Linked DNA regions of Homo sapiens: region 1 is linked to region 2. Evidence: promoter capture Hi-C in 16 types of primary human blood cells and fetal thymus (Javierre and others, 2016). All regions are on one chromosome and are shown on one strand. The core of a region is centred on a gene start or on the middle of the fragment in contact, and the rest is flanking DNA. Distances in the headings are between cores, read along the strand shown. Region 1 holds the start of LINC01694 (long intergenic non-protein coding RNA 1694). Region 2 holds the start of POFUT2 (protein O-fucosyltransferase 2).

Region 1 (5,859 bases), core at 2,560-5,059, 310 kb before region 2:
GTGAAACTTGACGCAAATGACCTGCTCAGGGCCAGAGCCATCCTAGCCAGGGAGCCCGGCCTCGCTGCTTTCAGAAGTTTTAGCCAAGGGAGTGAGGACTCTACCAGGAGACGCGTTAGGTCCCCACAGTTGAAAGCTGAGGGTGACCGTGAGCATTCTGGGAAGTGCGTGCCACTGGGGGAAGGTCCCTGCAGACGTTACTGTGGTTCCCGGGTGACCAACCCTCACTATCAAGATGCTGCCCTCTTGCCTACATTCTGGGGGGAGCCCCCTAACCAGATCCCTCAGTGGGGATGGTGTGGGTCACCTCCCTCTTCAATAAACCCTTATCTGCAAAGCCTTGAGAGGGTGCAGACGCTGCCCCTTGTGAGGGCCCAGCTGCAGGAGCATAGCCAGAATACTGTTCCCGCCCCAGGACCCATGTGCAGCACGCCGACCTGATCCCGCCCTCCCCCCTCGCCGCAGCCATAGTTAGGGTGCTCTGAGCCAGTGAACTTTAGGGTACATCCCAGGATGCCAGATGCTGAGAAGGGAGATTGCTGGGACTGGCAGAGAAATGGGCATCATCTGGAGTCCTGGACTGGATTGGGGGGACCTTTCTGGCCCCCCAGTAAAAGAAGGGCTGACCTGGTCTGGTAGGAGTATCTGGGAAGAAGTGAACAGTGCTGGGCAGTCAGGGGATGGCTGTTGTCACTTTGGTCAGACTCTCTTCCCATGCTAGAAGAATTCTCATGGTCTGTAGGCGGGAGCCCAGGCAAGCCTAGCAGGAGACAGGCAGGCAGGGCTCCCCTGCACCTTGGGGCCAGTGCAAGCCCCTTCCACGCCGCTGCAGGCTGCTCTGGGTGTGCTCTGGGTGATGCCTGTCGGGATGAAGGGGTTCCCTGAAGCCCTGGTTCCACCCTGAAAGCCCACGCAGCTCCTTGCCATGAGCACAGGGGTATCAAAATACTGCTTCTGATTGCGTGTCCATGAGCAAGACCAGCACTCCAGGCCATGAACCAAGCTTGTCCTGTGGGTCTGTGTGCTTGCTGGCAAACTGCCAGAAACGGCTCCAGAGTAAGAAACAAAATGCCATGGGTTCATTTTCCCCAATTGGGATTTTGTTTTCTTCATATAGAACCACGGATTATAGAAGTGACACTGATAGCAAACCAATCTTTGATGTCTACTTGGAAGATGCAAAAAGACAGCAGGTGGGCAAGGCGCAGTGGCTCACACCTGTAATCCCAGCACTTTGGGAGGCTGAGGCGGGTGGATCACCTAAGGTCGGGAGCTCGAGACCAGCCTGAACAACATGGAGAAACCCTGTCTCTACTAAAAATACAAAATTAGCTGGGCATGGTGGCGCATGCCTGTAATCCCAGCTACTTGGGAGACTGAGACAGGAGAATCACTTGAACTTGGGAGGCGGAGGTTGCAGTGAGCCGAGATCGTGCCATTGCACTCCAGCCTGGGCCACAAGAGCGAAACCCCATCTCAAAAATAAATCAATAGGCCAGGCGCAGTGGCTCATGTCTGTAATCCCAGCACTTTGGAAGGCCGAGGCGGGCGGATCACGAGGTCAGGAGATGGAGACCATCCTGGCTAACATGGTGAAACCCCGTCTCTACTAAAAATACAAAAAATTAGCTGGGTGTGGTGGCAGGCGCCTGTTGTCCCAGCTACTCGGGAGGCTGAGGCAGGAGAATGGTGCGAACCCGGGAGGCGGAGCTTGCAGTGAGCCGAGATCACGCCACTGCACTCCAGCCTGGGTGACGAAGCAACTCTGTCTCAATAAATAAATAAATAAATAAATAAATAAAAAGACAGCAGGTGATATGGTTTGGACCTGTGTCCTCTCTGCACAAATCTCACCGTGAAGTGTAATCCCCAACGTTGGAAGTGGGACCTGGTGGGAAGGGATTGGATCATGGTGGTGGTCCTTCACAAGTGGGTTAGCGCCAGCTTCTTGGTGCTGTTCTCATGATAGTGAGTTATCGTTAGATCTGGTTGTTTCAAAGTGTGCGGCACCCCCTCTTTTTCTCTCTCTACTGCTCCCATGTGAGACGCCTTGTCCCGCCTTCACCTTCCACCATGACTATAAGTTTCCTGAGGCCTCCCTAGAAGTGGAAGCTGCTATGCTTCCTGTAAAGCCTGCAGAACCGTGAGCCAATTAAACCTCTTTTCTTCATGAAGTGCCCAGTCTTAGGTATGTCTTTATAGCAGTGTGAGAATGGATGAATGCACGAGGTCTTCAGGACAAGCCCGATTTCATTGGTTACGAGATGCATGTTTTTCATTCTAGCCCCCAGAGACCTGGATACGTTGCACAGATGCTGACAGCAGGTGGCAGTGTGGAGCAGCGGTGTGACACCTGCAGGGCCCTCCGGGGACACCACATAAGGGCAGCCACAGTGTCCCGGAGCCCATGCAGTGTGACAGCCCCAGGTAACTCTCCAGCCAGCACTCCACCCGTGGAATTACAGCCGACTGAAGCACCTCTGCTACATTCGTCAGCTTGATAAATGTCCAAGGAATGAACCAAGCACAGGGACCATCTCTTCCGGTAGCTTCTCACCATCACACACACTTTGCAGGGCCGAGGGCTCTTCCTGGCCCATATCTAGCACCTAGATATTTTATTCACTTATGTTTTGAATATTTCATGGGTCCTTCTCCCCCAGAGGCCTCAGAGCACTCCCAGAATTGGAATGGAAATACACAGTGTGTCCTTGTCAGCTGTCCGGGCCGCCGCGTTCAAAGGGCAGGACATAGTAGCTTCTGCTCAAATTAGAATGATCTGTCTCGTCAAGCGGAAGATGGTTGTTGAGACTTTGTGTCTTTAAAGTATTGCCTAAAAAAGCAAGATTAAATGAACGCATGAATGCTTGTGCAATACGGCAGGAAAATCCCGGGGGTCTGCCTGGACTGCTCGCCCCAACCCTCTCTACGCGTGGGTTCTGCTGCAACATCGAGGAGAGAGCAGGGGGTGCTCATCTCCAGGCCATCGGCAAAGATGTCAGACTGTACTTGTCCCACAGGCCTGGCCGGCAACAGCAGGGTCTCCCCCAAGTGGGGCTTGCCAGCCGCACTGCTGCATGTGGCTTTGGGAGGGCCTGCGGGAGCCTGCTGGTCCCCATGGGCCTGGCAAGCATCTGCCCTGGTAGACTGAAGTGCCCCCAGGCCCTGTGGTTAGTGGAAGCCTGCTGGCCCCTGGAAGATCTGGGAGAGGAGAGCTGGACAGCTCACCCACCACGGCCAGCATGAAAGGCAGCTAGTAAGCCCCCCTGCGCTGTCAGCCTCTGCTCAGAAGTCTCTGGAGTGGTGTCCAGGTGCTGAGGGGGTGCACTGATGCTGCACTGATGCTCAGCCAGGAGCAACTGGAGCAGAAAGCAGCAGTCATGGGAAGATGCCTCAGATCACACACATGCACATGTGCACACACATGCACAGATACATGCAGACAGACGGACACATGCACAGATGCACATGTGCAGACGCACATGTAGATGTGAGCACACACATGCAAAGACACACACACCAGGCACATGCACACATGCACACAGGAGCGACTGAAACTTACAATAAAGCACGAACAAGTCTACGGTTCCATAGGCGTAGCTCTGTTCCAGCAGACGCTGACCAACTCTCCCATTAAAAACACAACACAAGCTAGAAAAAACTATCTTAAAATGTCTGTTCGAAATCAATGAAGAACTCCTAAAGCAGTGACAATTTTGGGGGCCAAGGTCTGAAAGACGGGGAAAGTAAGGATGATGGGCTGATGCTTGGGGCGGCGTGGATCCGGGCTGACCAATAACTGGGGAAGCAAAAGCTGAGCTGAGCCATGGGAGCCGGACTCAGCTCTCAGCACTCATGGGGCCAAAGGAAACAAAGGGGCCCCGAGAAGCCCCTCAGCTGTTGGTGGGAACCCTGAAGGGGAATCAGCCTGACCCCACCCTCCCAGAGTCTGCAGTTGGGTCACAAGGGCCTCCCTCCCTGGGTGACCACAGGAGCGAGCGCCACTCGGCTCCCTGGAGACGGCACCACTGGTGGCCTGAGACCTGTCCTATGAACATCTGTCACTCAACCAAAAATGCCAAGGGTACAAGATGAAAATCAACCAAAAAAGGTGAAGGAGAAGAAGCAATGCAGAGAAGCTGCAGAGGAGTGGAGGGAGGTGGCCCCAGGCAGGCAGGGGAGTGGGAGGGAGGTGACCCCAGGCAGGCAGGGGAGTGGGAGGGAGGTGACCCCAGGCAGGCAAGGGAGTGGAGGAAGGTGACCCTGGATGAGCAGTGGAGTGGAGGGAGGTGGCCCCAGGCAGGCAGGGGAGTGGGAGGGAGGTGACCCCGGACGGGCCGGGGAGTGACCACCCAGAGACCGGCACCCATGATGAGGGGCTCTTAGGGTGGAAAGGAAATGACCCCCCAGGGTGGGGTGGGAGCTTGGGGATAAAGGAAGGAACGCAGACCCGGGAAAGGGAAGTGAATAAAGAGACGCATACATGGTAGAAAATAATGATAATGTGTCCGGCACGGGGGCTCACACCTGCAATTTCAGCACTTTAGGAGGCAGAGGCAGGAGGATCACTTGAGCCCAGGAGTTTGAGACCAGCCTGGGCAACACAGCAAGACGCTGTCTCTACCAAAAATTTTAAAAAATTAGACTGCATGGTTGTGTATGCCTGTAGTACTGGCTACTGGGGAGGCTGAGGTGGGAGGATTGGTAGAGCCTGGGAGTTGGAGACTGCAGTGACCTGTGACGGTGCCACTGCACTCCAGCCTGGGTGACAGAGCAAGACCCGAAAAAATGAAAAAGAAAATAATAACAATAGTGATTTCCAGAGTTTGACATGCAAGTAGAGTTAAAATACATAAGAACAACAGAACAAAGGGTGGGATGGAATAAAGGGGTGATGTAAATCTTTGGTGGTCTGGTAAGAGATAGCAGGAAGAATTTACACTGGACTTTAACATGGATAACTACTGAATGAACAGTAATTCATAACTGGCAGGCTAAGAGAGGATAAACATGGAATAAAAAATAATCGAAGCCACGAGGAGAAGAAGGAACAGGGAACAAGTAGGAAAAACAGAAAACAATTCATAATGCCAGAATTCAAACGCAGATAATGGAATCAAAACAAAAGAACCAGAAAGTTCAATTCAAAGATAAAGATACACTGGATCCTGCAGGAGACACACCCTCAATGTAAGGCCACAGAAAGATAAATGGAAAGGGAGGTCTGGAAAGCTGGGGTGGCTGCATTAACACCAAGCAGAGGAACCACGGGCAAGGAGCTCAGCAGACCAGGGTCAGCTGGTGGCATGGGGCCCAGCCCACGGGAAGATGCCAGCCTCAAACTACAGAAAACAAAGTTGCAGAGTCCAAGAAAGAAGAAGAGAAATCCACAATCATATAGAAAAATTTAAAACATCTCCTGGTCACCAATAAAGCATGTGTATTAGTCCCTTTTCATGCCGCTGACAAAGACATACCCGAGATTGGGAAGAAAAAAAGGTTTAATTGGACTTACAGTTCCACATGGCTGGGGAGGCCTCAGAATCATGGCGGCAGCAAGAGAAAATGAGGAAGAAGCAAAAGCAGAAACCCCTGATAGGCCCATCAGATCTCGTGAGATTTATTCACTCTGGCGAGAATAGCACAGGAAAGACCGGTCCCCGTGATTCAATTACCTCCCCCTGGGTCCCTCCCACAACACGTGGGAATTCTGGGAGATACAATTCAAGTTGGGATTTAGGTGGGGACACAGCCAAACCATATCAGCATGCAAGGAAAATACTAGCAAGAGTACGCAGTATTTGAATCAATCACCTCACTGATGTTTAAATCACTGCACGTGACAGGCGCATCCCAGGG
Region 2 (5,802 bases), core at 1,289-3,788:
GAATGAAGTCAGCAGCAAGACCAGCCGGTGCCACCGATGACCAGGCCTGAGGTTAAAAGATTACCCCCCCTCCCACTCTAACCACATGTGATCTCAATCTATCACGACCCTTTCACGTGGACCCCTTAGAGGTGTAAGCCCTTAAAAGGGCCAGGAACTCTGTTTTCGGGGAGCTCGGTTCTTGAGACGCGAGTCTGCCGAAGCTCCCGGCCGAATAAAGCCAAATCCTTCCTTAACCTGGTGTCTGAGGGGTTTTGTCCGCAGCTCGTCCTGCTACATGACCTGCCTGTCTATCCTCTTACCCACGGCAACCTGCCTTGATTCCTGCAGCTTTAAAATAACCCTATCAGGGTTACAGTATTTTAATTTCTGCTTCACATAGTGTAAATCAAAAATAAAACTCTAAGCTTCCCCAACCCACTGAATGGATCCCTCATCTCCACCAGGGGGATTCTGAAGAACCTGAAAAATGAGCTCAGGCCAGGAAGGGACGGGGATTGGACATGGCTCATTATACCCACCTCCCTTTGGAGTTCAGGTGCAGCTGACCAGACTGACAGCAGACTCCATAGCAGCAAGACACCAAGTTCCAATCTGACGCTGGTATAGCATCACGTGACAACAGGCCCTCAAAGTATCAATGTATTTTACCCCAAAATATATCTCTTTGACAAATTTTGAAATGGCCCCGCAAAGCGGTGTCTTGTGGGGAAATTCATATTCTGTAGACTCCCCTTCCCTTTCCAGCTCTTTTTCTGATCCTGAGGAGACTGGCTGAGAGTCTAGTGCCTTTTGAAGGTCTGAATAGGAAACATTTGCCATGTATTGCCTCTGAGGGCGGACACCTATGAGATTTCATCCACATAATAAGGACCTCGGTCTCCACAGCCCCTTCTCTTAACCCAGACACTCCTTTCTATTGATTCCAAGCCTTCAGATAGTAACTTCTTTCAACCAACTGCCAATCAGAAACATCTTTGAATCCACCTATTACCTGGAGGCCTTTCCACTTGGAGTCGTCCTGACTTTCTGGATCAATCCAATGCACACCTCACATGTACTGACTGATGTCTTATGTCTCCCTGAAATGAATAAAACCAAGCAGTAAAACAACCGCCTTGGGCCAAGTTCTCAGGACGTCCTGAGGCTGTGTCATGGGTCATATTTGGCTCAGAATAAATCTCTTCAAGTATTTTACAAAGTTTGGCTTTTTTTGTAAACAATAGGCAGATATAAATTCCATTTGCTAATTTTTTTAAATGCTGTGTCTTGGTTCATGAAAGACATTGGTCTGTGGTTCTACTGTCTGGTGATGTCTGACTTTGCTATCAAGGCAATGCTGGCCCATACATCGAGCAGGGAAGTGCCCCTCCTCGTCCATCGTCTGAGTGGCTGGATTCCTATTATTTCTTCTCTAAGTAGGATTCACCAGCTTGGCCCTCTGGGCCTGGAATTTTCTGTGTGAGAAAATTTGATAACAAATTGATCTCAAATTTAACAGATAATAAGCATTAGTATTTTCTTTTTTGGTAACTGGCATCCTTCAAGAAATTCGTCCAATTATACCGTTTTGGGGGCTGCCTGCACTAGAGTCAGCGTGGCGTCCCCTCAGAAGGCCGGGTTTGCCAGCGCCGCGCCCCAAGCCAGGTCGGTCGGCCAGTGCTGGTGCCCTCGGGGAACAGCGGGAGCTGCCTGGAGGCTGCGGGGAGCGGCGGCGGCGGGCACGCACCTGGCTCCCGAAACCAGACCTTTAATAACGCCTCGCAGAAGGGGCGGGGTGGGAGGTTGGCAGCGCAGGGGCGGCAGCCCCGGATCCCCCCAGGTCTCCAGATCACCCCATCGAGCCCCGCGCCCTAGCAGCACAGTCCCTCCAGGGCTCCTTGGAGGGCCAGGCCTCAGCCCGGGTGCCCCCTCGCCGGGGCTCCAGGGTTGGGGGCACCCAGGAGGCCGCAGGTGTGGAGCTCGACGGCGCCCCCCGACTAGAAACCCAGGCTCTCATGCGCGGCTCCCGCCCCGACCCCAGCTCCAGAGGGGCGAGAGCACCCGGCGCCGACCCCGTCTACGGACCCCCTCCTCCGCCCCGCCCCCGCCGTCCAGCCCTCCCGCCCCTACCAGCCCCGGGCCTCCTCCCCACGGACCCGCCCCGCGCCACCAGCCGTCAGCCCTCCCGGCCCCCAGTCTCGCGTACCCTCCCCACTGGCCTGCAGGGTCCACCGACTTCCCGACCCCGGGACCTCCCGACCCCCGGACCTCCCGGCCTCGCGGACCCTCAGGAGCCCCTGCGTGGGCTGCGCCAGGGCGCCCGCGACAGCACCGCCGCGAACCACAGCCACGGCCTCCGGGTCTGCAATGGAACCTCTAGCCGCTGCGGTCAGGAGGGCGGAGACTCTGCGCACGCGCAGTTCCCCCTCCCGCCCCTGCTTGCCGGTGATGGCGCATAACGCATGCGCGGGGAGGGCGGAGCTGGGCGTTGCCGTGGCTACTGGGAACGCATTTCACGGGGGCGGGGCGTGGTTCCGGGGCGGGGCGCGGCCGCCGGAAGTGCGTGGCCGCCCGGGGCCATGGCGACACTCAGCTTCGTCTTCCTGCTGCTGGGGGCAGTGTCCTGGCCTCCGGCTTCTGCCTCCGGCCAGGAGTTCTGGCCCGGACAATCGGCGGCCGATATTCTGTCGGGGGCGGCTTCCCGCAGACGGTAAACGCGCGTCCACGGTGCCAACGCTGGGGTTCCAGGACCGGGCAGGGTCAGAGGATGGGATGGGGGCGGGGCGGGGTCAGGGGCCAGGGAGATGGGATGGGGTCAGGGGCAGGCCCACGGGATGGAGGGTGGTCCGGGGCCAGGGAGATGGAATGGAGCGGAGTTATGGGGCAGGGGCCAGGGGGATGGGATGGAGCGGGGTCAGGGGGCAGGGGTCAGGGGAATGGGATGGGGTCAGGGTTCTGGGGCAAGGAATGTGGCGGAGTAAGGGGCCAGGGTGATGGTATAGGGGCAGGGGGCAGGGGCCAGGAGGGATGGGATGGGGGCGGGGCAGGGATCAGGGCGATGGGATGGGATGGGGGCGGGGCAGGGGCCAGGGTGATGGGATGGGATGGGGGCGGGGCAGGGGCTAGGGCCAGGAGGGGTGGGATGGGATGGGGGCAGGAACGGGGGCCCGAGGGATGGGATGGGGGCGGGGCGGGAGCCGGGGCCAAGAAGGATGGGACGGGGACGGGACAGGGGCAGGGGCAGGGGCAGGGGCCGGGGCCGGGCTGGAGTCTGGGGGATGGGATGGGGCGGGGGCTGGGGGCAGGGTCGGGCCAGCGGGTTGGCTGTAGTCGAGGCTGCGTCACTGCGGCCCGGGTCTGCAGGCGGGGTCGTCTGCGAGGCCCGGGGCGCAGCCTCGGGAGCCCAGGAAGGGGGCCGGGTTGCTCAGGCTGAGCGTGGGCTGGCTCCGGAGGCCCCTGCAAGTGACACGGGTCCAGGCCTGGGTGTGCGGAGCCGGGAGTCAGTGCCGGGCGGGCGCTCCGCAGTGAATTCTCAGGGCCAAGACGAGCTTCGCGGCCGCCCTGTGGCTGTGGGATCTCCAAGCGGACCCCGGGAGGGGCCTGGACGCAGAGGTGTGCACGGCCCCTCGTGGCGTTCGCAGGCCTGGGCGCTGCACGCAGCTTCACTCGCGACGATGGGAGTATGGAAAACCAGCGCAGAGCAGGGAAAGGAGAGCGCCAGGGACAGGGTTTCTGTAGCCCTTGGGGACTTGTCTGTGCCTTGGGGACTTGTCTGTGCCTTGGGGCGCTTTGTGTCCTTCCTCTAGGGCAGTGATCTTAAAGTGTGTCCTGGATCTCTGAGCTTTTGTAGCCGTTTTAATAGTAGTACCAGAGTATTATACGCCTTTTTCACTTCTCATGAATGCACTGTGGAGTTTTCCTAGAAACCACTTGATCTGTGATGTCACAACAGATTGAATGCAGAAACGGGTATGGGAATCCAGCTGTCACCAAACCCAAAAGAGATTTGCAAAAATTAAGAACATCATCACAGTTCTTCTAATTCATTTTTTAAAATACACTTATTTTTTATTTAAATATGTGGTTTTTGTTAACATGTAATGGCTTCTTATTTTTAGCTGAATTAAATACTTGTAGCTTTAACGTCTAACATAGGACGTATCAATAGACATAGTGCACATAACCAGCCGTCAGTCATTGTTTCCAGTGTAAAGGGGTCTTTAAACCAAACAGTTTGAGAACCATGTGGGTACTGATTCTTGGGTTCCAGTCACTGGGATTCCTCTGCCTTAGTGTTGAACTATTGCTAATTGTTAAAACGATGTTAGCATGTCTGCTGCTTCTGCTTACAGGCTCCGTAAGTAACTGGTCATAGAGAAACAGGCCACTCACTGCCTTCACAAACTAGGAACCATTGTTAAGTGCCTAGAGTCGGGCCACGCGCTGAGACTTGTGAGCAGTCGGGTTTTCCGTGCAGAAACCTCAGCATTTGAGACCTGTGGTCCTCCTTCTCCCTGCTCAGGTATCTTCTGTATGACGTCAACCCCCCGGAAGGCTTCAACCTGCGCAGGGATGTCTATATCCGAATCGCCTCTCTCCTGAAGACTCTGCTGAAGACGGAGGAGTGGGTGCTTGTCCTGCCTCCATGGGGCCGCCTCTATCACTGGCAGAGTCCTGACATCCACCAGGTCCGGATTCCCTGGTCTGAGTTTTTTGATCTTCCAAGTCTCAATAAAAACATCCCCGTCATCGAGTATGAGCAGTTCATCGCAGGTGAGGCCGAGCGGCACGCTGGGAGGCCGTGGTTGCTTAACTGGGGCCAGGCAGTCATTTCTAAGGTAGACATCAGGTTGGGCTTACGATTGCATCCAGCCTCACCAGCATCCTCCAGTGCCCAGTGCTGCTGCCTGAGGCCTGTGGCAGCACCTCCTCCGTTCAGGAGCACAGTCCCTTTCCCACGCTGCAGTGAGCTTCCCAAAATGTTTCTCGGAAATGGACCTGAAGTGGATGAGCTTTGTGCCCCCTCAGTTAGAGCCGCCCTTACACCCTAAGAAAGCGGCCACCCCTGGGTGTTATAGTGACAGGACTCGGCTCCCTGTGCGAAAGGCTGTTTTACGTTCAGGAAGACGCACTGCGTGTGGAGTATGCTTCGTGGTGTCTCAGTGCAGCGCCAGGGATAAAGGTCTGTCTCGTTTAATTTTGTGTTGCTTAATCTTTTCAGTTAATTTTAAGAGAAGAATTAAAGCTCTTCTTAGAATGAAGGTATTTAGAGCTTTTTGTGTTGCGTTGTTTGGAAGAGATAAAGGTAAGTGATGCTTTGCTGCTGCACTTGAGAGGCCTTGAAGACGAATGAGTTAGTTTTGAGTCAGGCTCCTGCTTTCCAGCATCTGTTGAGTTCTTACTCGACAGCCACTCTCGGGGCTTAGAGACCTTTGCTCCCTGCCAAGGAGTGTGGCTCCCGTGTCATCATTTTTCAAGGATGTGGTTCTCGTTGCACCCTAGATCTTGTCACTCTGAAATGTTTTCTGTGTCAAGGTCAGTCTTGTGAGTGCTAGGGGCATGCAACAACAGGCGGTAACCTCCAACATCCTTGTTGATACCAAGTCAGAAAGTCTGCTGCTTGTAAAAAGCATTCCTGGAGTGCGTCCTTTCCTGAGTTGACTTTAAAATTTGCTTGTGAGTCCTGGAAGATGAAAGCTGTGGTTGGGTATTGGGTCTAACTAGCAGCCAGCCCTCGGTCTGAACATTGGGTTATAGGAACCCAGAGATGCTATCCTTACCTCCCTTTGGTACCAGTGGGTTTCCTGACAGGGAAGCGGA

What was found. Contacts are between HindIII fragments. The CHiCAGO score rates a contact against its expected background, and 5 or more counts as called.
Region 1: a fragment that was not itself captured here is called in contact with the fragment with the promoter of POFUT2 in region 2 in 5 of 17 cell types (non-activated CD4 T cells, M2 macrophages, activated CD4 T cells and 2 more); the score reaches 6.0 in non-activated CD4 T cells.

The regions. Positions count from the first base shown.
Region 1 is chr21:45,593,365-45,599,223 of GRCh38, reverse strand. It overlaps LINC01694 (long intergenic non-protein coding RNA 1694), which reads right to left and starts at 5,570. Exons shown (of 2, transcript NR_146912.1): 1 at 5,516-5,570; 2 at 1-2,833. The region is part of intron 1 of LOC107985485 (a long non-coding RNA gene); the gene reads left to right. RefSeq lists a silencer at 2,175-2,469 and an enhancer at 3,014-3,515. The HindIII fragment of the contact is 5,607 bases long and covers 1,006-5,859 here.
Region 2 is chr21:45,284,631-45,290,432 of GRCh38, reverse strand. POFUT2 (protein O-fucosyltransferase 2) reads left to right here and starts at 2,538. Exons shown (of 9, transcript NM_133635.6): 1 at 2,538-2,692; 2 at 4,505-4,755. The coding sequence starts at 2,562. LINC00205 (long intergenic non-protein coding RNA 205) reads right to left here and starts at 2,381. Exons shown (of 3, transcript NR_026943.1): 1 at 2,189-2,381; 2 at 995-1,082. RefSeq lists an enhancer at 1,197-1,927 and a silencer at 2,082-2,611. The HindIII fragment of the contact is 9,019 bases long and covers 410-5,802 here.